4 separate regions of the Homo sapiens genome follow, and regions 1, 2 and 3 are each linked to region 4. The links are contacts of gene promoters, found by promoter capture Hi-C in blood cells and fetal thymus (Javierre and others, 2016). All regions are on one chromosome and are shown on one strand. Each heading gives the region's core, a stretch centred on a gene start or on the middle of the fragment in contact. The rest is flanking DNA. Distances are from core to core; before and after follow the strand shown.

The links. The method cuts DNA at HindIII sites, captures the fragments that hold promoters and counts their contacts. A CHiCAGO score of 5 or more calls a contact.
Region 1: a fragment that was not itself captured here is called in contact with the fragment with the promoter of CHD8 in region 4 in 2 of 17 cell types (naive CD8 T cells and fetal thymus); the score reaches 8.1 in naive CD8 T cells.
Region 2: a fragment that was not itself captured here is called in contact with the fragment with the promoter of CHD8 in region 4 in 1 of 17 cell types (monocytes); the score reaches 8.3 in monocytes.
Region 3: a fragment that was not itself captured here is called in contact with the fragment with the promoter of CHD8 in region 4 in 2 of 17 cell types (naive CD4 T cells and total CD4 T cells); the score reaches 5.7 in naive CD4 T cells.

The regions. Positions count from the first base shown.
Region 1 is chr14:23,005,389-23,011,679 of GRCh38, reverse strand. It overlaps C14orf93 (chromosome 14 open reading frame 93), which reads left to right and starts at 1,537. Exons shown (of 7, transcript NM_021944.4): 1 at 1,537-1,579. It overlaps LOC124903286 (a long non-coding RNA gene), which reads right to left. Exons shown (of 2, transcript XR_007064075.1): 2 at 2,696-5,112. RefSeq lists silencers at 1,199-1,548, 4,460-4,509 and enhancers at 3,176-3,736, 4,670-5,039. The HindIII fragment of the contact is 3,706 bases long and covers 2,902-6,291 here.
Region 2 is chr14:20,348,334-20,354,253 of GRCh38, reverse strand. PARP2 (poly(ADP-ribose) polymerase 2) reads right to left here. Exons shown (of 16, transcript NM_001042618.2): 5 at 3,632-3,728; 6 at 3,132-3,207; 7 at 1,907-2,009; 8 at 7-169. Among named protein-coding and RNA genes, the nearest start is that of PARP2, 7.7 kb to the right of the region's middle. The HindIII fragment of the contact is 4,027 bases long and covers 1-3,950 here.
Region 3 is chr14:22,586,768-22,593,279 of GRCh38, reverse strand. It overlaps DAD1 (defender against cell death 1), which reads left to right and starts at 4,056. Exons shown (of 3, transcript NM_001344.4): 1 at 4,056-4,333. The coding sequence starts at 4,123. RefSeq lists enhancers at 3,776-4,417, 4,418-5,059. The HindIII fragment of the contact is 675 bases long and covers 4,491-5,165 here.
Region 4 is chr14:21,451,794-21,457,755 of GRCh38, reverse strand. It overlaps CHD8 (chromodomain helicase DNA binding protein 8), which reads left to right and starts at 1,633. Exons shown (of 38, transcript NM_001170629.2): 1 at 1,633-1,724. It overlaps LOC124903283 (a long non-coding RNA gene), which reads right to left and starts at 1,359. Exons shown (of 2, transcript XR_007064064.1): 1 at 1,279-1,359. RefSeq lists enhancers at 233-784, 1,061-1,110, 1,121-1,170, 785-1,336, 1,201-1,890 and 1 more. The HindIII fragment of the contact is 18,756 bases long and covers 962-5,962 here.

The DNA.
Region 1 (6,291 bases), core at 3,505-6,004, 1.6 Mb before region 4:
TTACTAAATATCTACAATTATGCCAGCTACTGCAGTAAGAATCAAACAGTTCCTGGATGGAAAAACAATTTTAAGATATGATCACTGACCTCAAACAGTTTACTGGAGTGAAATTACTAAAATATGTGAATCAAGGTAGAGTTACGTGCCGCTAACTGGAGTACACATGAAATTCATGTTGATGGGAGCGGAGAGAAGGAAGTAAGCAGTCTGTGCTGAAAGAGAATGGATAAAAATTGACCAGTCAGGGAAGGGGAGACGCATAATTCAGGCCAAAAAAAAAAAAAAAAGCCACTTGAGTAAAGGAATAATACAAGATTGATAAGACGAGCGTAGAGGGAACTAAGAACAAATATGTGCCCAGGCGCGGTGGCTCACGCCTGTAATCCCAGCACTTTGGGAGGCCAAGGCGGGAGGATAACTTGAGGTCAAGAGCTCAAAACCAGCCTGGCCAACATGGTGAAACCCCGTCACTACTTAAAAAAAAAAAATAGCCGGGCGTGGTGGCATATATCCGTAATCCCAGCTACTCGGGAGGCTGAGGCAGGAGAATCGCTTGAGCCTCGGAGGTGGGGGTTGCAGTGAGCCGAGATCACATCACTGAAAAAAAAAAAAAAAAGGCAGGGTGGGCACATCACCTCAAGTCAGGAGTTCAGGACCAGCCTGGCCAACATGGCGAAACCCTGTCTCTACCAAAAACAAAAAAAATTAGCTGGGTGCAGTGGCGCACGCCTGTAGTCCCAGCTTCTTGGGAGGCTGAGGCAGGAGAATCGCTTGGGCGGGGTGGGGGTGGGGGTGGGGGTGGGGGCGGAGGGGCGGAGTTTACAGTGAGCGAAGATCATACCACTGCACTCCAGCCTGGGTGACAGAGCGAGACTCTGTCTAAATAAATAAATAAATAACAAATAGGTGGGTGGGACCAGATTATGGGTGGCTTAAAATCCAGGTATACCAGCTGTCTTCCTGGAAATAAAGAGGAGCCACTTTAGTTTTGAGAATGTGGTCTGAGCCAGGTAGATAAACTGGGAGCTCGGGCTGAAGTGTAAGACTTCAGAAAGATGTTCCATACGTGAATGTTCATTTAAACGTGGGGGTGTTAAGCAACACACGTGACCCAGAGACATTTCACCTGGAAACCGGAGTAGGGCCCACGCACCAAGTCCCTGATGTTTAATTGCAGTCTAGAATGTTACTGACTAGTTCACTCAATTTAACAAAGTGTCCGGAGGTCGCTCACTGGATTGTTATGCTGGTGACTGGGCCTTGTTTCACTGAGAAAAAAAGATGGGAAAGGGTGACAGGACGGTGAGAAAGTGAAAGGGAGAGAGGTGGGAAAGGGGTCTGCCAAGGTCCAGGCGAGGTTGGGGGTCGGGGGTCCGGCGGCCCTCAGGGCCCCCCCCGCCCCCAACTCCGGGGTTGGCGCCTCGGGCGCGGCGCGTGTGCTTGCGGGCGGGGCGCCCCGCGGCCGCGGACGGCCAATCCGGGAGGGCGTCCGGGGAGGGGCGGGGCTTGCCGGCTCGGGCTCCGCGAGTCCTCCTTTTTGCACACACACGAATACAAAGAGCCATACGACCTTCGGGTATCCTTTTTCCATTTTTTTTCCTCCTTAATCTTGTGTGTGTTTTCAAATTTTTTAAAAATAGAGATCTGTAGCAGTGTTGGGGTGAGGAAACTGTTGCTAAGGGGAATTTGCTCTTTCCCCCATTTCTTTTTCTGTCTCTCTTCCTCTTTCTTTTTCCTGGTCAAGGTTTTAAATATACCAAGAAGTTGAGAAGCAGGATGGCCGTGTACAACCGTTTCCGGCCAAATTTATAGTTTTTTTTTCTTTTTTTTAAATCACATTTTAAGAACTGGTAGATTTTTGTGGTTGAGGGACTTTAAAAATTTAGCCGCTTGGGAAGTACAGAATTTTTTAAGCGGGCTGAAGGGATAATGTAAATTTCTGCCACAGGCAACATCGAAGGAAGCAGAGAGATTTGAGGCTCCCTCATAAAGCCGTTTGCGTGCTTTTTACACACCCACCCCCCCAGAACCAAAACCAAGTGGCTGGGATGTGGCACTTGTCCAAGGCCAATAAGTTAATATTGGGATATTATAATGGAGACATTCATTTCCCTAGGGAAGGGGGAAAGACCTTAATTACAGTGTGTCTTTCACACACATTTTCATTAGAACATTTGTGTGTGTGTGTGTGTGTTTCTTGAAACAAATTTGTAAAGTTATAACTTGGGGTTATTTGTGTATATGTACAATATGTGTGTATATGTGCCATATCAGATTTTATTTTCAAAAGTGATAAATATATCTGGTTTTATGTGTGCAAAGTATCCCCTAGGATGTGAATTTTTTTCCGTTGTCTTCCCAAATGTGATCAAAATATTTTGTGTGCAAAGCAGAGCTTAGAAGAAATCCTATGCTTAGCATACTTAGGCACTTTCTATGTGCATTTACTATATTTTTCTGCTCCTAAAGGATCAGAATAATGAATAATTAAATAATTGCCAAGGAGTATATAGTCCATGTGGCAAATGAGAGTAGGCAATTTATTGAATCTGTGGTTCAAAGCCTTCAGTGACTGTTTTGCCTAAGTGGTTTTGCTTTTTATTGTCTCACGTTCTTAAGTGTACAGCTGTGTATATTTTGGCCTTTATGTGTGGTTTGGTTGGTGTGTTCAGAAGGGAAGTTCTTTCTTGGCTTTTTGACAAAATGGTCGTTTATTGGTTGGAATATTCGAAAAGCTCCACAGCTGGCAAAGTATCAGGAAAAAAATCCAGTCAAGTGTAATTCTCAAAAACTGTTCATGGTGATGGTGATGGGGAGCCAAGAGGATGCAAAGGCAAATAATAGAAGGGATAAGAAATGCCTTTTGGTTATCATGTTGCATTTTTAGAATGGAAAGCTTCTCATTTCTAAGAGTCACAGAAAAAAGTATATGAATTAGAGAAAAACAGGCTCGCAGAGCAGAACCTCCTGTTATAGGAGCCCTATTTTCACTTCATTCTGTTACAGAATCACTATCTCCTCATTAGAAGTTGTATGGAAAATATCTGTATCCAAATTTGTATTCGCAGATTGGAGTGAAAGCATAGGAGGTATATGAGGTGCTGAGGGAGAAACTGGAATGTCACAAATGCAGTGACAACCAGGAGACAAAAAAAAAAATCTACTGTAGAATTTAAATTTCATTACAACAAAACTTCTGTATAATAATGCATTTCTATTACACAGCTAGCATCCTACTCTATTTCAAGCAGTATTTGACTCCTAAATACTGACTGCAATAAAGTTACTTGTACAAATTTATAACAAAAGTGGCCCTGTTTGGGCTTTCTGGGTTTCTTACTTGTGCTGAGTGTATTTTTATTCTCTAACAATTCAAGTCAGACCAGTGCTTAATAAATACTGGCTCGACTGTGGATTATTCCACAATTTCAGACCTGCATTTCTTTGAAATCTAGTCACATTTTAGTGATCTTTGTGATCACAACAGTGATGGGAGTTTTTTTTTTTTTTTTTTTTTTTTTTGAAACGGAGTTTCGCTCTTGTTGCCCAGGCTGCAGTGGCAATGGTGCGATCTTGGCTCACTGCAACCTTCGCCTCCTGGGTTCAAGCGATTCTCCTGTCTCGGCCTCCCGAGTAGCTGGGATTACAGGCATGTGCCACCATGCCGGGCTGATTTTTGTATTTTTAGTAGAGACGGGGTTTCACCATGTTGGTCAGGCTGGTCTCCAACTCCTGACTTTAGGTGATCCGCCCGCCTCTGCCTCTCAAAGTGCTGGGATTACAGGCGTGAGCCACCGCGCCCGGCCAGTTACGGGAATTTTTAATGGAGTTTTACCCTTTTTAGCTCTTTTCCACATCACTACAGGTCATCACATATACTTTTTACCTTACTTTTTAGCGTCTCAAAAAATAGGGAGAGCTCTCCCTGAACAGTGCAGAGCCCGTATCCCTGATTTCCTAGGCTATTTGATTTCTACATCCAGGAACGTAGGGTCATATCCACTGTTCTTGCTTTTTCTTCCTAAGAAAGGAGAGAATTCCTCGCACATATATATCGTTGGCTTGGCCTTCCAAAGCAAAGCAAAACTAAACTCTGTTGATTTTGCCTGGGAATCCTCGGGGCCCCTAGTATTGGAAACTTCTTTGAACTGTGAGGAGCTGCTAATTTGCAGGTGACATGTGAAAGAAATGTAACCGAGGCCAGCAGTAACTAAAAGTCGGCCACCACCCAACGTGTGACGCCGATTTGTGGCCACTGTGCTTATAATCGTGTACACACAGGTTTGTGAGCAGCAGAGAACAAAAGCAAGTAAACAAAAACAAGCTAAAGATGGCGTCTGACGGCCTTGAAAAAGCCTCACAGTCTTGTCCCTCCCTGAGGAGGCCCCTCCCCTACCTGACTTTTTGAGTGACTGTTGTTTGCAGCCAATAGTGTCCGTGACCCTGCTCCCCAGCCATCGTCTAACCGCCAATCACCGGGAGCCAGAAGGCAAACGGGGCGGTGTCTCCCCGCGTGCGCGCGGTAGCCGGGTACACGGGCAGGCGCCGCGGATAGTTCTGTCTCCCGCGCGCCCGCCTCCGCCTCTGCCTAGCTGAGTCAGCCCGTGCGGTAGCGCCAGGCACACGCGGTAGAACATCTGTAGGGCTGCAAAGCTGCACCTCCGCGTCAGTTCTCACGGCGAGCGCCGCCTTCAGCCCAAGTTCTCAAAGCTCTCGGGGCTACGTAGTCTACCCTCCCCGGTGACCCGGCGAGATCCCTAGCCGCTCCTCCGGCCGCTCTGCTCTCCGCATCCCTCGCGGGAATGACCCCCTTTACCCGGGACTCCCAGAGCGCACTGTATGGTAGGGCACAGTGGCGAGTCACCCTGTCCCCTGAGGCCTCTTGAGCAGTCGCCGATCTCTGCTTCCCGCGTCGCTGCGATCGCCTTTCCCGTAGCTGAATCACACTGACCCATCGGAAACGGTTCTGCCCTCCCTGGGGTCCACCTTGTCATCCTTGACTAATATTTAATCAACTAACATTTACCAAGTTCTCGCTGGCACGAGTTCTAGGAGCTACTTTTTCATTTTTCAGTTTCTCCATAAATGCAGTGGGTCCTTTAGGCAAACCTGAAATCGGAAATATTAATCTTACCAATGTAATCTTAGCAAATGTAAATAAAAAGGACTGTGCTATACTGGGCTAAAAATTCTCATCCTGCTATAGAAATATACGTGGAATTTTCAGATTACGTGGAATCCTTTAAAGACCGCATTCGGCCTTCTGGGTCTACAGCTCTCTTTTTTACCCCTAAAAATAAGGTCTTGGATTTTTTGCAGACCATTAGTCGAGTCACTCTTTTAAAATGTGGGAAAATAGTATTTTGTGGTATTTACTTAGCTGCTCTTGTGTGATAAGGAGCTCATTTCTGATAAAAATAGGTTTTGAGAGAACCTTTTGACAGGTGAGCCATTTTGCACCTTGAAGTGGAGGAGTAGGACTGACCAACACAGCAGGAGCTTTAAGTGGCCGTTTTCCTTATTTATTTCTTAAAATGAAGATTATGATATGAATTGCCATGCTTTCAGTAATCACATTTAAGGAAGTCTATTGCTAGCATGACCCTGAATGAGTCAAGCACCCATTATAAAAACATATATCATCTGAGTGATACCATATCATACACATCTATTAAATAGTGAGAAAACTTTTATTTTTCATAGTTTGGAGGTGAACTCAGTCATGCAGAAAATTCAAACTCAGAATGGGGAGAAAGCAAGCAAGGGAACTGCCAAGAGTATGATATATTTAGTCCTAACAAAAATGTGACTTGGGAGGAAAGGGATAGTTAAAATTATGGACAGTCTTACCCTGAACTGTCTGTCTAAAGGAGATGAATTGTCTTTCTTTTTTATCTAAATATTTATGAAAAATACCAAAAGTACTGGAAAGTACATTTTTAAGGCTCGTTTCACATTTATTTAAATTAGACCAATACTGAAATGAACCCCAAATGCTTATATTTTTTGCAAACCTAAGTGTGACATCTACTGTCATGTTGTGTTGGCAACGCATCCCAAGATTGAAGATCTTTTTCTCTTTTTTAGACCTAGTCAGTTGTTTTCAGGACTTTCTACTTAAACATGTTGCCATCATTTGAAATTTAAAATGTTAAATAAATACACTTCTTCTCTAATATACTGGTGTCTCCTCTTTTTATTTATTTATTTTTTAGAGACTGGGTCTTGCTATGCTGCCGAGGTTGGTCTCAAACTCCTGGGCTCAAGCGATCCTCCTCCTCCCAAAGT
Region 2 (5,920 bases), core at 688-3,187, 1.1 Mb after region 4:
TCCTACCAAGTGGGGCTTTCTTGGTATTATACTTCATTTCCATCATCATTTCTTCCATGGCCTGAACATTACAGATCAACTTTATTAACTCCTGTACCCGAAGATCTAGCTGTGACTCTGGCTTCAAGGGAGATTTAAGAGATTCCTCTTTCTTTGTTTCCTCTTCATCCTATAGCAAAAAACAAACAAAACACAAGACAATCTAAGAAATCATCTCTAGATTCCTTATAACACCCAATATTATACAATGTAAATGCTTTGTAAAGTTTTTATATTGCACTGTCTAGGGAATAATGAGAAGCAAGGAAAAAAAGGCTGTACAGGTTCAGTACAGAAGCAATTTTTCAAACATTTTTGATTCTCAGTTCATTGAATCCATGGATATAGAGGGTTGACCATCCAAGTTCTGCCTCCCACATTTTACAACTCAGAATAAGTCTAGAAAAAAAAGGCTTTCCTCATGACGTCAGTGTGTAAAGACAGCTATTATGTCTCAGATCTTCCCATCTTAAAAAAGACTAAAACTTCTCCATTTTTTTGGATATGTGACTGTTTCCGGACAGTTTCAGCATCCTGGTATACCTCAGTTTATCTAAATTAAATTTTTTATGGTGGTATATATCCAGAAGTGAAAACAAATTTAAATGTTAATTGTTTAATCAGTTTGATTTTTTATCACTCCTCTCTTGGTCCATAACAATAAACTTCTGGTGCCAGCCGCAGTGGCTCACGCTTGTAATCCCAGCACTTTGGGAGGCCAAGACGGGCGGATCATGATGTCAGGAGATCGAGACCATCCTGGCTAACATGGTGAAACCCCGTCTCTACTAAAAATACAAAAAAAAATTAGCCGGGCGTGGTGGCGGGCGCCTGTAGTCCCAGCTACTCCGGAGGCTGAGGCAGGAGAATGGCGTGAACCCAGAGGCGGAGCGTGCAGTGAGCCGAGATCGCGCCACTGCACTCCAGCCTGGGCGACAGAGCGAGACTCCGTATCAAAAAAAAACAAAAACAAAAAAACGAAAAAAACAATAAACGTCTGGAAATAGGGCCTAAGATTTTATAAGAAACTTAGTAGGCCGGGCGTGATGGCTCACGCCTGTAATCCCAGCACTTTGGGAAGCTGAGGCGGGTAGATCACCCAAGGTCACGAGTTCAAGACCAGACTGGCCAACATGATGAAACCCTGTCTCTACTAAAAATACAAAAAAAATTAGCTGGGCATAGTGGCGGGCACCTGTAATCCCAGCTACCTGAGAGGCTGAGGCAGAAGAATCGCTTGAACCCGGGAGCTGGAGGTTGCAGCGAGCTGAGACTGAGCCATTGCACTCCAACCTGGGCAACAAGAATCAAACTCCAGCTCAAAAAAAAAAAAAAGAACCTTAGTAAATAACAGAGCCAAGACTAGAAAGGCACATTCTATCCTCATTCTTACTGTCCCTTTGGGATTACAAAGATCAGTGAGAGCACCCCTGAGGTGAGAAGTAGAAAGGATTCAAGATATCCTGGCCTGTCCCAGTCCAGGAATGATCTAAGCTATTCTGCTTTACCCTGAGTAAGAAGAAACAGGAGTAGGTGTGGTGCCTCATGCTTGTAATCTCAGGACTTTGGGAGGCCAAGACAAGAGGACTGCTTGAGCCCAGGAATTCGAGACCAGCCTGGGCAACATAGTGAAACCTCATCTTTACAAAAAAAAAAGAAAAAAAATCAGCTGGGCAGAGTGGCACGTGCCTGTAGTTCCTGATACTGAGGAGGCTGAGGTGGGAGGATCACTTGAGCCTGAGGATCTTGAGGCTGCAGTGAGCCATGATTGTGCCACCCAGCCTGGGCAACAGAGCACAGTTTTGCCTCTAAAAAATAAAATAAAAAAAGAAGATGTGTTTCTTTCGAAAAGTATAGTGAGAGTTACCTGAGTATTGGTGGCATAGTCCATCTGTAGCATATCATATTTTCCAGGCACCTTCTCAAACTTTTCTCGATCTTCCCAATTGTTTTTCGTTTTGTCAAGGAATCTGTAGAGTCCAAGGTGTAAGAAAACTTTACAAATAAAGGTCTACTATGAAGATGGACTTACAAGACAGAAAATCTCCAAAGAATTTATTTTCCAGCACTGAGCTCCTTTACACATCAACTTTCCATAAATCAAAATTAGTCTAATTCTAAATGAGGACACTAAATGGACAAAAAAGCTCTGGAGACAAATGGAATTTAAAAAATGGGAAAAACAATGCTTGTCCTTCCCAAACACCACAAAAGCCATTGAGATTTCAAACAAAAGATATCCATCTAATCTCTTTCCCTGAAAGAAACATGTTCTCCAATTCTCCAGAAAGTTCTTCATCTATATCATAAAGTTTTAAAAATTCTAACTGAATATTCTCTTTTTTTCTTTCCTTTTTTTTGGGGGAGAGTCAGGGGTCTCGCTTTGTTGCCCAGGCTGGTCTCAAACTCCTAGCTTCAAGCAATCCTCCTGCCTCAACCTCCCAAAGTGCTGGGATTACAGGCATCACCGTGCTCAGCCCCTAGTTGAATATTATCTATCCCAGGATAGTCTCCACTTATCCCAAATTTCCTAAATTTGTCAGTCATGTGTTAAATATATTAGATTCTTCTGTTTTTAGTGACTTTCAAGGTATTAGTTTGATTTAATCACTAAGGATGCAGTTTGGTGTTTCAACCACAGAATGTCAGGGTGAAAAGACATTAACATTTAGGCCAAATCACACCTATAAAACGAAAAGTTTTTTATAAGCCACACACTTATAAAATTCTTAGAGAAGGCAGGGCACGGTGGCTCACGCCTGTAATCCCGCACTTTGGGAGGCTGAGGCAGGCGGATCACCTGAGGTCAGGGGTTCGAGACCAGCCTGGCCAACATGGCGAAACCCCATCTCTATTAAAAATACAAAAATTAGCTGGGCGTGGTGGTGGGCGCCTGTAATCCCAGCTACTAGGGAGGCTGAGGCAGGAGAATCACTTAAACCCAGGAGGTGGAGGTTGCAGTGAGCTCAGATCATGCCATTGCACTCCAGCCTGGGCAACAAGAGTGAAACTGTCTAAAAAAAAATTTTTTAGAGAATATACATCTAAGAAGAGGAGGGTATATTTTTTTGTAGTCACTTTTCAGCACTCACTTCTTCTGAAAGATTTCCTTGGCCTTGTTGAGATTGCCTGAACAAGCCACCAGGCTGTGCTGTCCCATTTTCCCAACTGCAAAGGAAATGCCACACATAAGATAGTTCCCTAAGAGTAACAGGCCAGCTCTCCAAGATCTCTCTGCTTAACATCTGACAAACAGGCAGGAAAGGGAGAAGGGAAAGGTGAAAGGATTTAGGGAACTAATCATGTTGATACAAGTTACTTGCTAACTGCCATAGTCTATGAGCACTACTAGCAGTTCAACTATAGAAGAGTTTTCAGACTCAATGGGCTGCTCTTAGTTTTTCCAGTGGGAACTCTAAGGAGGATGCCTGCCATTCCCCAATTTCAAGATGCTCAACTTGATTCCTAAGGCTCTCCCAGACTTCAGAGCCTCTACTGACCCAATTTAAACCCAGAGAATCCTTTGGCCACCCACTAAGCTGCTTCTGACTTTCTGAATGCCAACTCATAAAATCTCAATAAAAATCATTACCTCGGCCCCATCTCATCCAAACACTGAAGTTCCTCTGGGCATCATCTTCTAATAGCTGAATCAGATAGTACTTGTTGTTGTTGAACTGGAGATTGGTCTATGTTGAGTGAAAACAAAAACAAAAAAAAGGAGTTTTGCAAATGGAAATCACATAAACCAATGACTCATCCTTCGTCACAGGTGCCAGTTATTTCCATAAGGAAAAGGATAGCATCAGGCAAGAAAATTAGATTCCTGTAAGATTAAAGATATAAAGAAGAAATAGGGCTTATACATTAAACTTTGGATTCTTAGGAATTAAAGTGGGAGCCTAGAAGCTTCCTAAAACCCTCTATCCAACCTCAAATATCCTACATTGAATGGCTCCTCCAGTTTTTTCCTGCCTCAGCTCCCTATTTAGATATTTTCTAAGCTATATGTGTTTTCCAGCTCCCAATCCACTCCCAATAATTATTTCCCAAATGAAAACAATTTGGATGCTCCAAAGGTCTAAACCTGTTATGCTCAACTGTTAAATGACTTACTCCTTGACAGTTCTACTCACAGCTTTTGTTTGTCAGCTGCAGAAATTTGACAATGAGCTGAGAGCAGGGCAATAATGGGAGGGGACAAGGGATACGCAAAACCACTGCCACATCCGTCCCATACCTAACCTGACCTGACTTGGAGATACTGAGAGAGAATATGGCCAGTATCTAAAAAGAGGTATCTGTAAGTAAATCACTCAGAGTGAAGAGAGAGAAGTCCATGATAAGGCATAGCAGCTGGTGTTGTATGGCCGAGCCCTGGATATGGAGGCATTCTTTTTTGTTAAGCATGCTGCCCCTTCCTACCTCTATCTCCTGCTTGCTCACATTCTAAAGCCATTGTACGACCTTAGCCCACTGGTGAAAAAAAAAAGGTCATTAGATGTTAGAACAAAAAGGAGCCTAAGATATTTTCTTTTTTTGAGACAGAGTCTTGCTCTGTCGCCCAGGCTGGAGTGCAGTGGTGCAACCTCCGCTCATTGCCACCTCTGTGTCCTAGGTTCAAGCAATTTCTTGTGCCTCAGCCTCCCTAGTAGCTGGGATTACAGGCACACGCCACCATGCCAGACTAATTTTTTTTTGTATTTTTAGTAGACATGGAGTTTCAACATGTTGGCAAGGCTGGTCTTGAACCCCTAACTCAAGTGATCTGCCCGCCTTGGCCTCCCAAAGTGCTGGGATTTTAGGCATAAGCCACCATGCCCAGCTTGATATTTTCTTTTCCTTTAAAAAATTTTTTTGTAAATGTTTTTATGGTTTTTATTTTTTATTTTTTTGAGATAGGGTCTCCCTCTGTCACCCAGGCTGGAGTGCAATGGCTCAATCACAGCTCACTGTAGCCTCAACCTCCCAGGCTCAAGCAATCCTCCCACCTCAGCCTCCAAAGTAGCTGGCCCATGCCCGGTGTTTTTGTATTTTTTTGTAGAGACAAGGTTTCACCATGTTGCCCAGGCTGATCTTGAACTCACACCTGAAGTGATTCTCCAGCCTTGGCCTCCGAAAGTGCTAGGATGACAGGCATGAGCCACCACACCTGGCTGCCTTAAGGTATTTTCCTTCTTTTCTTTTTTTTTTTGAGAAGGAGTTTTGCTCTTGTTGCCCAGGGCTGGAGTACAATGGTACGATCTCGGCTCACCACAAACTCCGTCTCCCAGGTTCAAGCAATTCTCGTGCCTCAACCTCCCGAGTAGCTGGGATTACAGTCATATGCCACCACACCTGGCTAATTTTGTATTTTTAGTAGAGATGGGATTTCTCCACATTGGTCAGGCTGGTCTTGAACTCCCGACCTCAGGTGATCCGCCCGCCTCAGCCTCCCAAAGTGCTGGGATTACAGGCGTGAGCCACTGCACCTGGCTAACCTTAAGGTATTTTCTATCTGCTCGTGGTATTTTAAGTAGAAGAAATAGTAAGAAATAAATACTAATTGGTTGTTAAAATTATATATGTTGGATCAATAAATTCAAACATGAAGTCATATCCAGGAAATATATTAATGAGGCAAATGTATTATCTACTCAAAACCACAAAGGTAAACAAGAGAAAAAGGTTGATTAAAAAGAAAGCTGAGCTTGGGGGCAGATGCCTGTAGTCCCAGCTACTTGGGAGGCTGAGGTTGGAGGATCACACGAGGTCACAAGTTCAAGGCCAGCCTGAGCAACATAGCAAGACACTGTCTCTAAAATTAAAAAAAAAAAAACCCAAAATTTTTTAAAAAGGAAAAATTAATAAATTTAACTACAGAAAAAATTTAAAACTTCAA
Region 3 (6,512 bases), core at 3,579-6,078, 1.1 Mb before region 4:
AAAGGCACCAGCAGTCACTGTCCAGTAGATAAGGCACTGAAGGTAGTATGCAGACCCCCCAACCACTCGCTTCCTCCCCTCGTGCCATTCATGCCAGCATTCCATGCCCCATTTCAAAAGCACCCTCTTTCTGCTCCAAAAGTGAAATGGTACCCTTAAGGCAGAAAACCTGTACTTCCTCCCCTAAGGTAGCTTTGGAATAAAATATCATTTTCTTTATACCAGATCTCACTCTTGTTAAGTGGACTCTGCAAGCAGCGAGAGAGTGAACCTGCATTTGGGTTACAACACTAACTAGTTTAAGTGCTCAATAGCCACATATGTCTAGCAGTTACTATACTGGGCAGTGCAGAGACATTATCACAGAAAATTCTATTGCACACTGTTGCTCAGGCACTGATGATTTCAGCCCCATGTTGTGGTGAGTGATCTGCTCTTGGAAAGGACAATATAGTGGACTCACTTTCGGGTGCCAGCAAGGGGGCAAAACTGAGGCTTTTTTGAGACTCCCAAACAGCTAGGAGGGAGGGAAACCAGACAAAGGAGCTGAAAAGTTGTTCCACTTCATCAGAAACTGAAAGGATGAAGGGATATGGGTTCACTGAAGATATTTACTGCTTTACTAGGACTTGATCAGAAACTTGATACTTTAAAAATTTGACTTTGTGCTGTTTGCAACTTGATTCTCCTTAAATTTTTATTTCTGAAAATAATAACCTATTTTATCTGTTCTATTAGGAAACAAGGAGAGGGGGTTTTGGTCACACTGGGGCCAAAGTTTAGAAGGTAGAGATTATATATGCAATAGCAGTTAACAGAAGCAAAGAGGGGAATCTTAAGGCAAACGTGACAATGCAAGGGAAAGGAAATGGAAAAGACATTCTTTTCCATGCGGAGATTTCCTTTAGAAGAGTTATTGTCTACTCAAACTTTGGAGGATTTGTGTTTCTTTTGGTAAATAATGTGATTTCTTTTTGTAGAGGATGTATGATGTAAAATCATGGACTTTGCCCTTAAGGGAACCCTCTTGCTCCTCCACTCTTCCATTGTTTTATGTAATGAAACCCCTAAAGTATACTCTGACTTCAGTTTCAGCTTATAAATTAGATCTGCCCTTTAAGAGCCATTTGAGTTGCAGTCCCTCCAGTGCTATCTTTTGCATACCCAAATTATTGGGGGCGCTGTAGTTTGGCTAACTTTTAATCATTCAGAGAACTAGGAGAAGCAGACATGGTTAATTACTAGGATTAATGATAGTTAATAAGAGCAAACATTTACTGAACATTTACTGTCTGCCAAACACTATGCTAACAGCTTAATGCTTAACATTATCTCATTTAATCCTCACATAATTTCAATGAGCCAGGTATTGTTATTTCTGTTTTATAGAAAAGGAAAATGAGACTGTCAGACTGAGTAACTTGTTCCAGATTAGACAACTAGTAAACAGCAGAATCAAGGTTCAAACCTAGGACTGTCTGATTCTAGAGCTTGCACTCTTATCCACTACTCTGGACAAGAATTTTAAACTATATTAATATTCTGATTTAAACTAATTGAAATCAACACTAGTGTTAGCAATTTCCTATTGACAGATCAGTTAAAAATGTTTCAATGATTATAGAATCATAAACCGAATAGAGAAGTAGGCCTTTTCTTGCTGTTTTAAGTAGTTCAGAAAAGCCCTAGTGTAGTATATTGGTGTGACTAGCAGGTCTCAGAAACAAATGCATTCAATAAGTCCATTTGGTGTTTTTCATCTCTTCTTCTCTCCTGTGAGAGTTCCTGGGGAGATCTTAATGATGATAGTTGACATGGATCAAAGGCAGACAAAACATAAGGGAGAAAACACTGGAAGGAGCCTGGCTGATGGAACAGAAACTCCCTGAAGAATCCACACCTGAATGATTAAAAAGCATCAGCCTAGCCTGTAAAGTTTGAAGTTGAATATTCGTGAGGAAGCTACCCTCCTACTTGTTGATGAGGCAGAGAGAAAGGTTCAACTTGTCAGAGAAATTGATGCTTCCTGCCATATTATATTGAAATAAGAACCAGCTTGTTATCCACTCTTTTTTTTTCTTTCTCAGCAACATAGGTTTAGGCTGAACTTATGTTCATATAGCTGCACAAATCTCCACGGGTATGAATATAAATCTATCTATTCAAATAGACTCTAAAGGTTTCTTAGGTTATTTCTCTTCTTTCTAGAACTTAAGTAAGGCTTTGATCACCACTGATAATACATCCGTTAGTTAATGCGTGTAGAGTTTCCAGTCTAAAGGCAAATAAAAAGTGAAAAGGGGCCGGCGCAGTGGCTCACTCCTATAATCCCAGCACTTTGGGAGGCTGAAGCAGGCAGATCACCTGAGGTCAGGAGTTCAAGATCAGCTTGGCCAACATGGCGAAACCCCGTTTCTACTAAAAATACAAAAATTAGCCGGGCGTGGTGGCAGGTGCCTCTAATCCCAGCTACTCGGGAGGCTGAGGCAGGAGAATGGCTTGAACCCAGGAGGTGGAGGTTGCAGTGAGCCGAGATCGCACCATTCACTGCACTCCAGCCTGGGTGACAAGAGCAAAACTTCATCTCAAAAAAAAAAAAAAAAAAAAGTGAAAAGGCAGGAACGCTGTTGTTCACCTGCTGTTTTAGGAATTTTGCTCACGTACAGTTCAAAATATTAAGAAGCTGAAAATAAAGTACCTGGTCATGTGTGGAAAAACTTACAGCTAAAAGGTGAGATGAACTGGGTCTAGAAGGTCGGATTCACGTGAAATTAAAAGGGCAACGAAAGCCAGAACTTAATTTCTTAAAAAAAGTTAAAACAGGCCGGGTGCAGTGGCTCATGCCTGTAATCCCAGCACTTTGGGAGGCCGAGGCTGGCGGATCACAAGGTCAGGAGTTCGGGACCAGCCTGGCTAACAATGGTGAAACTCCGTCTCTACTGAAAATACAAAAATTAGCCGGGCGTGGTGGCGCGTGCCTGTAGTCCCAGCTACTAGGGAGGCGGAGGTTGCAGTGGGCCGAGATCGCGACACTGCACTCCAGCCTGGCCGACAGAGCAAGGCTCCGTCTCAAAAAAAAAAAAAAAAACAGTTAAAACCCTCAAAATAATCCCACTTGTTAAAATACAAAACCTGAAACCATTTCAGTTTCTTCTGCAAAATGAGTTGGAGAGAGTAGGGTTGAACCAGGCATGCTCTTTCGGGCCTTTCGACGCTGACATCCCGGGATATTACACCAGGTTCAAGATACCAGCTTGCGGAAAGAGAGCTGCTAAACTTGACCATATGCTTTTTGCACGACATTCGACAGCTGTCCCTCCCTTCACCAGCTCTTTTAAGGCTGCAAATATATCTGATTCACGTGAGAGTCCCTACAAGTTAGTACAACGTCAGGCCCCAAGGAGGCGCCCAATAAATGTTGGCATTGCAGGGCCAGATCCCGAGTTCCAGTTCAGAACCCTGCTGAGGTCAGGCTTCCTCCCTGCCTCCCGCCCCTCACCACACCCACTCACTCCCCCAAGTAATTAAGTCTAAACTGGGGCCTGTGCAGTGATTGGCCGCGCCGGGTCTCACTGCGGATGAACTTGACTTGTTCCAATGATCTGTGACAGACATCTGCAGACAGCGCCCTTAACAGAATTAGGGTCAGGCTGGTATCAAACCCCAGGAACGCCAGGCATTGCCTCAAAGTAGATGCAAACCGTTAAATCTTCCAGGACTCAGAAGGACCAGAGAGAGCCGGATACCTCTGGTTAGCTACGCGGTCCCCAGTAAAGCTTATTCCCCTCTTCCTCCCAGTGTGTCTTGTTGCCAGAGCAACTGTGGGCGTCACCGAGCTGACGGGCGGAAACAGAACAGAAAGAGTACACGTCCCCAGCTCATTGATAGGGCCATTGCGCAGACGCATTAACTTTTCTGAGTTGTAGTTGAGTCTGTTGATGCAGTCCGCGTCTGCGCATTAGTTGTTACGCGCCCTGGCCGGCCTCAGCGCCTGCGCAAATTGGCACACCGGGGAGGGCGGAGTTAGGTCACGAGGGTGCGCATGCGCAAACAGCACATCCGGTGTGGTCGACGGGTCCTCCAAGAGTTTGGGGCGCGGACCGGAGTACCTTGCGTGCAGTTATGTCGGCGTCGGTAGTGTCTGTCATTTCGCGGTTCTTAGAAGAGTACTTGAGCTCCACTCCGCAGCGTCTGAAGTTGCTGGACGCGTACCTGCTGTATATACTGCTGACCGGGGCGCTGCAGTTCGGTTACTGTCTCCTCGTGGGGACCTTCCCCTTCAACTCTTTTCTCTCGGGCTTCATCTCTTGTGTGGGGAGTTTCATCCTAGCGGGTAATGGTTCTATAAGTGATCATAATAATAATGTGTTACTTTGGTGTGCTGCTTTTGTTTTCATAGTACTCTATATCAGACCACCGCCCCTTGAAGTTATGAGAAGAGCCTGCATTGCCCTTTTGTTGTGAATGGGGAAATTGAGGCTCAGAAAGCTTAGATTATATGCCTAATACCAAACGGCTCCGTAGGAGTTGGACTTAAAAGTCTAAAGAAACCACCTTCGTGCCGCTACTCCACTTGGTGATCCACTTCACTTAATATTGGTCCGGGGAAAACCCTATTCCAACTTTAACTTAGGTTTAACACAACTCTAAAATTAGTAGACTTTTCAAATGAAAAACCCAACCTTGAATCATCTCTGTCATCTTGGCCTAATCATTACCAATCTCCGGTGAAACGTTTCAATGAAAGTGCAAAGAATATAAATACTGGTGCTTTTCTTGTTGAATCATCCTTTACTTGATTTTGCCTTTTAGCTGCTACTACTTTTTTTCTTGTTGAGGAAGCTGTTATTTCACTGTCCTGAACCCAATTTTTGTTCACATAACTCTATTTTAGCCTTATTTTTCCTTTTGATTCCAGGATTTGGTAACCTTGTAGACTGCTATATTTAGCGAGAACAGTCTCCATCAATTTTTGTTAAAATCTGACTTTTCTTGCCCAACGGGGATTCAGTGAATACTGAAAACAGGCGTGGCCTCTATCACTGGTATCACCTGCTACTTTGACTTTGAAAACATGCCAGCATTCATGGTTTCTTTTCAGTGTGATCATCAGTCAGGTCATCAGTTGTATTTTCAGTCCAATATGAGGCATTATGGTAAAAGCTTTGGCACATGTTCTTTATCCGTAAAGAGTTTATGGTCTAGTTGGGGTACAGACAAAATACAGCATTGGAATTGTCTGGAGGCCTGGCACAGTGGCTCATGCCTGTAATCCCAGTACTTTGGGAGGCCGAGGTAGGCAGATCACTTGAGGTCAGGAGTTCAAGACCAGCCTGGCCAACATGGTGAAACCCCATCTCTACTGAAAATACATAAATTAGCCAGGCATGGTGGCACACACCTGTAATCCCAGCTACTCGGGAGGCTGAGGCAGAATCGCTTGAACCCGGGAGGTGGAGGTTGTAGTGAGCCGAGATCGTGCCATTGCACTTCAGCTTGGGTGAGAGTGAGGCTCAGCCTCAAAAAAAAAAAAAAAAAGTCTGGTGACAGTGGTGCTGTGCTTAAAGTTACAGACCTATAGAATGCTTATTGTACATTTACATTGTTCTGACACACCAGAGATATTTCTTAGAATTTAAAACAGGTCTGAGGATCTAATGACTTGTGTACTGAAGTTGCAGATTAGCCTTTTGATTGGATATTTAGTTACCATCTTTGACTTTTGTCCTAGATGACCAAGACCTAGTTGTCTGTGGTGGCGTCCTTGCCTTCAGGATGTGTTAACCATCATCCGACCAGATACACTACCCCTTTGCTCTAAGTATTCTCCACCACCCACCCACCGCCCTCTGCCACGGTACTATATGTTTTTATTAGCCAGCCCGGAGAAGGAACCTTGATGAGAACTTTTGATTTAATTTTGTTTGATGTTTTTGTTTCCAGGTCTGGAAGAGTAGGAGCAAGGCAGGGTCTGAAAGCTGATTTTAAAAAAGATGCCTTCTCCATGTAGAAGTCACCCTGCCTTCATAAGCCTCTAGGGTCTAGAATGATTTTTCATGGATGCTTTGAAGAATGTGGTTTGCTGAAGAGTGGGCATGGACTAGAGTTATAGATTATCAGTGTAATAAAGCCAGAAGGTTTTTTTGAGCAAATGACTTTCACTTATGCCAAGACCTGTTTTTGAGCCCGTTGTGGCTGAAATTGAATTGGCAGACTGGACTGCCTTTCTCCTCTCCAGTGGGAACTAGGTGGCTTGTCATTGAAGAAAAACCTAGTAAAAGGGCATATTAGTAATGGGGCCAATAAGGGGGATTAGGATTTCCAGATCTGTTAGATAACAGATAATAGAGCTATAGAAATGAAAGCAACTTCAAGAAAAGAAGGGATTCATGATAATTCTTAGTTGCCACAGAAGGGTATGATTTACCCTTCTTTTGACAGCATTGACTTTCCTAAATCCTGCCTCTTCTGCCATTTGTTAGCCTAGATCATCAACTGGAGACTGGTTTTAA
Region 4 (5,962 bases), core at 384-2,883:
GCCTCCCAAAGTGCTGGGATTACAGGCGTGAGCTACCGCGCCTGTCTTGGCTGACAGATTTTGATACACAGGGAAATGTATTTGGCCAAGTCTTTTTTTTTTTTTTTTTTTTTTTTTTTTTTTTTTTGAGATGGAATTTCGCTCTTGTTGCCCAGGCTGGAGTGCAGTGGTGAGATCTTGGCTCACCACAACCTCCGCCTCCTGGGTTCAAGCGATTCTCCTGCCTCAGCCTCCCGAGTAGCTGGGATTATGGGTGTCTGCCACCACGCCCGGCTAATTTTTTTTTGTATCTTTACTAGAGACGGGGTTTCACTATGTTGGCCAGGCTGCTCTCGAACTCCTGACCTCAGGCGATCCACCCGCCTCAGCCTCCCAAAGTGCTGGGATTACAGGCGTGAGCCACTGCGCCCAGCTTAAGGCCGAGTCTTATCACTCATATGACTTCTTGATGTCTCTGAGCTCCTATCATGTAAGACCATGCAATTATGTTACTCCTTGAGAAATTCCTTTAATAATCTGGAAGGATTCCCTCACTCACAACTTTAAAAAAGATTTCTTGGCCAGGAATGGTGGCTCATGTCTGTAATCCCAGCACTTTGGGAGGCCGAGGTGGGCGGATCACTTGAGGTCTGGAGTTCGAAACCAGCCTGACCAACATGGCGAAACCCCGTCTCTACTAAAAATACAAAAATTAGCTGGGCGTGGTGGCGGGAGCCTGTAGTCTCAGCTACTCAGGAAGCTGAGACAGGAGAATTGCTTGAACCCGGGAGGCAGAGGTTGCAGTGAGCCGAGATCGCCCCACTGCACTCCAGCCTGGGTGACCGAGCGAGACTCCATCTCAAAAAAAAAAAAAAAAATTAGGCCTTTAAAAAAAAAAAGGAATTCCTCCTTAAGTCCTGTTCTTGATTTCCAACTGATTCACAGTGCCCCTACTGGAAAATTTGCAGTGAATCCTAAAGCTTAGTAGCACCTATAATAGATACATGTCCTGATATTTTGAGTGAGGTGTCCATAAAGGATTACCCTAGGAAAGTGCAACTTTCACTCTCATTAGAAGAATTAATTTTTGCTTATTTGATTTGTTAAAATTGCTTTACTCCTACAGTTAAGTGAGAGGGTGGTGGTGGTTGTTGCCCGTAACCACATACGGCATTACTCCAGGGTTTCACGTCGTGACTGAGGGGCCTCCTAAGTGTATACAGCAGAGTATGTTCGGGCTGGACCTAGATAGTCGGACAGAACACCGACAGGGTCTTCACATTCTTTAAGCACTCTCACCCAGTCCCGGAGTCCGAGCCAAGATGGCTTCCCAGAAGTAGGTAACTAAGTGTTGTTTTAGTTCACAGCGCCCCCAATGGCGGGGGTCAAAAAAAGATGCCGAGGGGCCTGGCCGCCTGTGAACTGAGTCGTCAGAGGCGAGCCGCCGCCAGATTTTATTTTCAATCAGGCATATTTGTGGTCGCCTACGTACCCTTCTCATCCTCCTAGGACCTTCCACCCTCAAGAGACTTCCTGGATGGCGCTCACACTAGCTCGCTGGAAGAGGCCGGGCTTCGGTGCTGCCATTGGCGGATGGGAGCGCAGGGGGGCGGAGCCTAGGGAGAATGGACTACTAGCAAGCTAGATTGAGGCGAGGGCTGGCCATGCTCCGCCGGAAGGCGCCTTGTTCTCGGAGAGGGTGAGTTGAAACGCTGCCTGGAAAGGAAGTACCAGGACTTGCACAGGTAGGCTTCCCGCTCGCACCCGCTCCTCAGTGCTGGGCCAGGAGTCAGCAAAAGCTGAGGCTCTCAGAGATTTGATTTAAGTAACTCCTTCTCCTCTCTCTTCCACCCCCTGCTCGCCCCCCAGTTGTGAGGGATCAGGTGCGGGGTGATGCTCCGGACTGAACCAGTCTCCTTTGTGAGAGGCCGGGGGAGAGGGTGGCTGCCGGGCCGCGGGGTCCGAGCCGGGCCGAGCCGCGAGGGACTGCTTGGGACGCTGTGGAGTTTTCAGGGCTTGTCATTGCATTACTGGGCGTAGTGTAGATTGGAGGCGGCGCCTTGTTCTCCTCTCTTCAGAGAAGGGAAAACTCCTCGGCCCCGTTTGGTTACTCCATACTTTGGATTCAGAAATAGGTGGTTAGGGTTTTCTACTTCTTTTTATTTTTTTTTCTTCTGTATTTTAATAATAAAGGTGGGTAGGAAAGCATGGGGTAAGCGTAAGCAGATTGTTACTCATTCTCAGGTGTAAGTTCTGTGGGTCTCCTGGCAGTGAAGAGCAGGCTGTTGGAGAATGTTTAGAGATGGTGGGAAGAGAGGAGCTCAAGCCTTGCATCCTCCTTGACAGGTCTGCAGAGCTCACTGGTTTTCCGTTGCATTATGTAAACTCGTCACTGATAGAAGACCCTTCCCCCTGCTTTGGAACGAATGCAGTTTATTTACCTGTCTCTAGTGTCGCAGGGAATTTCCCTGCAGCAGCTGTATAAATGCAGCAGCCTCTTGCTTTTTAAGGGACAGTCTTGAAGCGGTTAGGGTCTTCACAGAAAAGGTATATAGTGGACCCATCTCTTTCGTATGGCTAAGCAAAGTGAGCCAGAAGTCAAAGATTTAGAACTCTGTCTTTTTCTATTAAAGAATAAACAGCGGAGCGCCCCAAACACAAGCCAGGGGAGCTGCCTTATCAGTGTCTGCTGCATCCTACCATCACAGCGGCGTCTACAGATCGTTTCATCTCCATGCTTTTCTGAGTTTGTCGACTCAGTCAAGGATTCTCAGCCTAGGTTAGCATATGCTGAAGTCATCTGGTGTGGGGCACATTACATATCGAAAGTGAGTTTGTGATTTGAATCGTGTCCTGTGTTAGTTAATTAGATCGTGTCTTCTGCTTAGGAATTTCTTTTGTATTGGTCATCCAATAGGTTTCAGAACAAATTCTAGTCAACCTCATAGAGCAAGATATGAGAAACTTATTTCAAGTACTTTGGAATTATCCCAACCCTTAAAAAAAGAGTTATGATAAGAAAAACATTTTCCATGTAAGAAGACCTTCTGCTGCAAGAGAGGCGTGTCAGTGGATCTGAAGGCAAGTGAAAGATATTGGCCAAAGAGAGAGTAGGCAAGTTTGAAGAGACAGGCTTAGGAGAAAGTTTAAAACTGAAATAGTGGCTCACGCTTGTAATCTCAGCACTTTGGGAGGTGGAGGCGGACGGATCACTTGAAGTCAGGAGTTCGAGACCAGCCTGACCAACATGGTGAAACCCCGTCTCTAAAAGTACAAAAAATACAAAAAAAAATTAGCCGGGCATGGTGACGCGTGCCTGTAGTCCCAGCTACATGGGAGGCCAAGGCATGAAAATCGCTTGAACCCTGGAGGTGGAGATTGCAGTGAGCCAAGATCGTGCCCCTGCATTCCGGCCTGGGCGACACAGCCAGAGGATAGCAAAGGAGTAATGGATTGGGATAAGGGATATAATGGAACAGTGTATGAGTACTTGAACAGTTTTTGTATTCTCCATGTTTGATCTGTCCTGTGCATCTGCTCTTTTGGTTTTGTCAGTTTTCTTTTCTTTTCTTTTCTTTTCTTTTCTTTTCTTTTCTTTTCTTTTCTTTTCTTTTTTTTTGAGACGGAGTCTTGCTCTGTCACCCAGGCTGGAGTGCAGTGGCAGGATCTCGGCTCACTGCAACCTCCGCCTCCCAGGTTCAAGTAATTCTCCTGCCTGAGCCTTCCGAGTAGCTGGGATTACAGGCGCCCGCCACCATGCTTGGCTAATTTTTTTTTTTATTTTTAGTAGAGACGGGGTTTCACCATATTGGCTAGGCTGGTCTTGAACTTCTGACCTCGTGATCCTCCCGCCTCGGCCTCCCGAAGTGCTGGGATTACAGGCATGAGCCACTTTTCTAAGCAAAATTACCACTTAAGATTAAGTTGTGGGTGTCAAAACTGTGTTTGCTTACTGAAGAAATAAGATTTGATATTCTCATATGTGAAAGGACTGTAACATTCAGATGAATGCTAAATGCTTTAGTGAACTGTTTGTCTACAGCTCTGGAAGAGTTAAGCTATCTTCTGAGCTTACATTGAGCCTAATACTTGGGAGGAAAACAGAAGACAAACATTTCTCTCGAGTCTCCACTTTCACCTCTAGAATCTCTCTACTTCTGGAGTTGGATTTGAGCCAGTCCTTGATCTGCAGGTCTTCGCATGACCTGTCCTTACATTACTGTGACCATTGTGGTATAATATTTACTATTTTACCTTTAGCATTTGATTCATTGACAGACTATCATGTTTCTTATCTCACTTTAACTTTTTATATCCCCTCTTACATGATCTATGATCTTTTATTCTTTTGTCTCACCAAGTTGGTGATCTTTTCATCTTCCTGTGATTTTGCTCACTTTCCTTTTCACTTAATTCACTGACGTTGTACACTTTTGCTTCTGTTTAGCTGAAACCTTTTAGGGAATGTAATTTCTGTATTTTTAGTAGAGACGGGGTTTCACCATATTGGCCAGGCTGGTCTTTAACTCCTGACCTCGTGAAAATTGAAACCTTTTAGGGTATCTAATTTTCAAGATGTGGTCTTTCTTTGGTACCTAGCACCCAAATGAGAGTTGTCTTTCTTTCTTTCTTAAGAGACGGGGTCTTGCCATCTTGCCCCAGCTGGTCTTGAACTCCTCGGCTCAAGTGATCCACCCACCTTGGCCTCCCGAAGTGCTGGGATTACAGGTGTGGGCCACCACACCCAGCCTGACAGTTGTATTTCTTTGTTTTTTGTTTTCTTTTTTTTTTTTTGAGATGGAGTCTCGCTGTGTCACCCAGGCAGGAATGCAGTGGTGCGATCTTTGCTCACTGAAAGCTCTGCCTCCCAGTTCAAGTGATTCTTCTGCCTCAGCCTTCCGAGTAGCTGGGACTACAGGCGCGCACCACCATGCCCGGCTAATTTTTGTATTTTTAGTAGAGACAGGGTTTCACCATATTGGCCAGGCTGGTCTTTAACTCCTGACCTCATGATCGGCCTGTCTCGGCCACCCAAATCGCTGGGATTACAGGCGTCAGCCACTGCGCCCGGCTGACAGTTGTATTTCTATGTAATGGGATTGTTGTATGAAGTTTTCTTTTTTTTTTTTCTTTTGAGACAAGTCTCCCTGTGTCTCCCAGGCTGGAGCGCAGTGGCGCGATCTCGGCTTACTGCAACCTCCACCTCCTGGGTTCAAGTGATTCTCCTGCTTTAGCTTCCCAAGTAGCTGGGGTTAAGGCGTGTGCCACCACGCCTGGCTAATTTTTTGTATTTTTAGCAGAGACAGGGTTTCACCATGTTGGCCAGGCTTGTCTCAAACTCCTGACCTCAGGCTGATCTGCCTGCCTCGGCCTCCCAAAGTGCCAGGATTACAAGCGTGAGCCACCACACCAGGCCTGAAGTTTTCTTTTACCTAAAGTTTATTTAACATTTATTGCATTCTGGCTGGGTGCAGTGGCTCACGCCTGTAATCCCAGCACTTTGGGAGGCCAAGGCGGGCATCCTAGCCAACATGGTGAAACCCCGTCTCTACTTAAAAAAATACAAAAATTAGCTGGGCGTGGTGGCGTGGTCCTGTAGGCCCAGCTACTCGGGAGGCTGAGGCAGGAGAATCACTTGAACCAGGGAGGCGGAGATGGCAGTGAGCCTAGATCGTGCCACTGCACTCTAGCCTGGTGACAGAGCGAGACTCTGTCTCAAAACAACAACAAAACATTTACTGCATTCTAGATTTTGTCTTGGATAACCTTTTTCTCCTTTAATCTCTCAGTTTTGTGGGTGAGTAAACTTTAAATGAAACTCTAAAGTTTTCATTGTATTTGTATTGTAAAATAAGTCCACCTCTTTGTAGTTACTTAATGTTTTACGTTTAAACTACAAAGTATCTTAATCTCTGACGTTTCTCATTAAGCTGTTCTCTAGGTAACATTTCTTTTGCCCTTTTATTATTAATTATATAGTTTC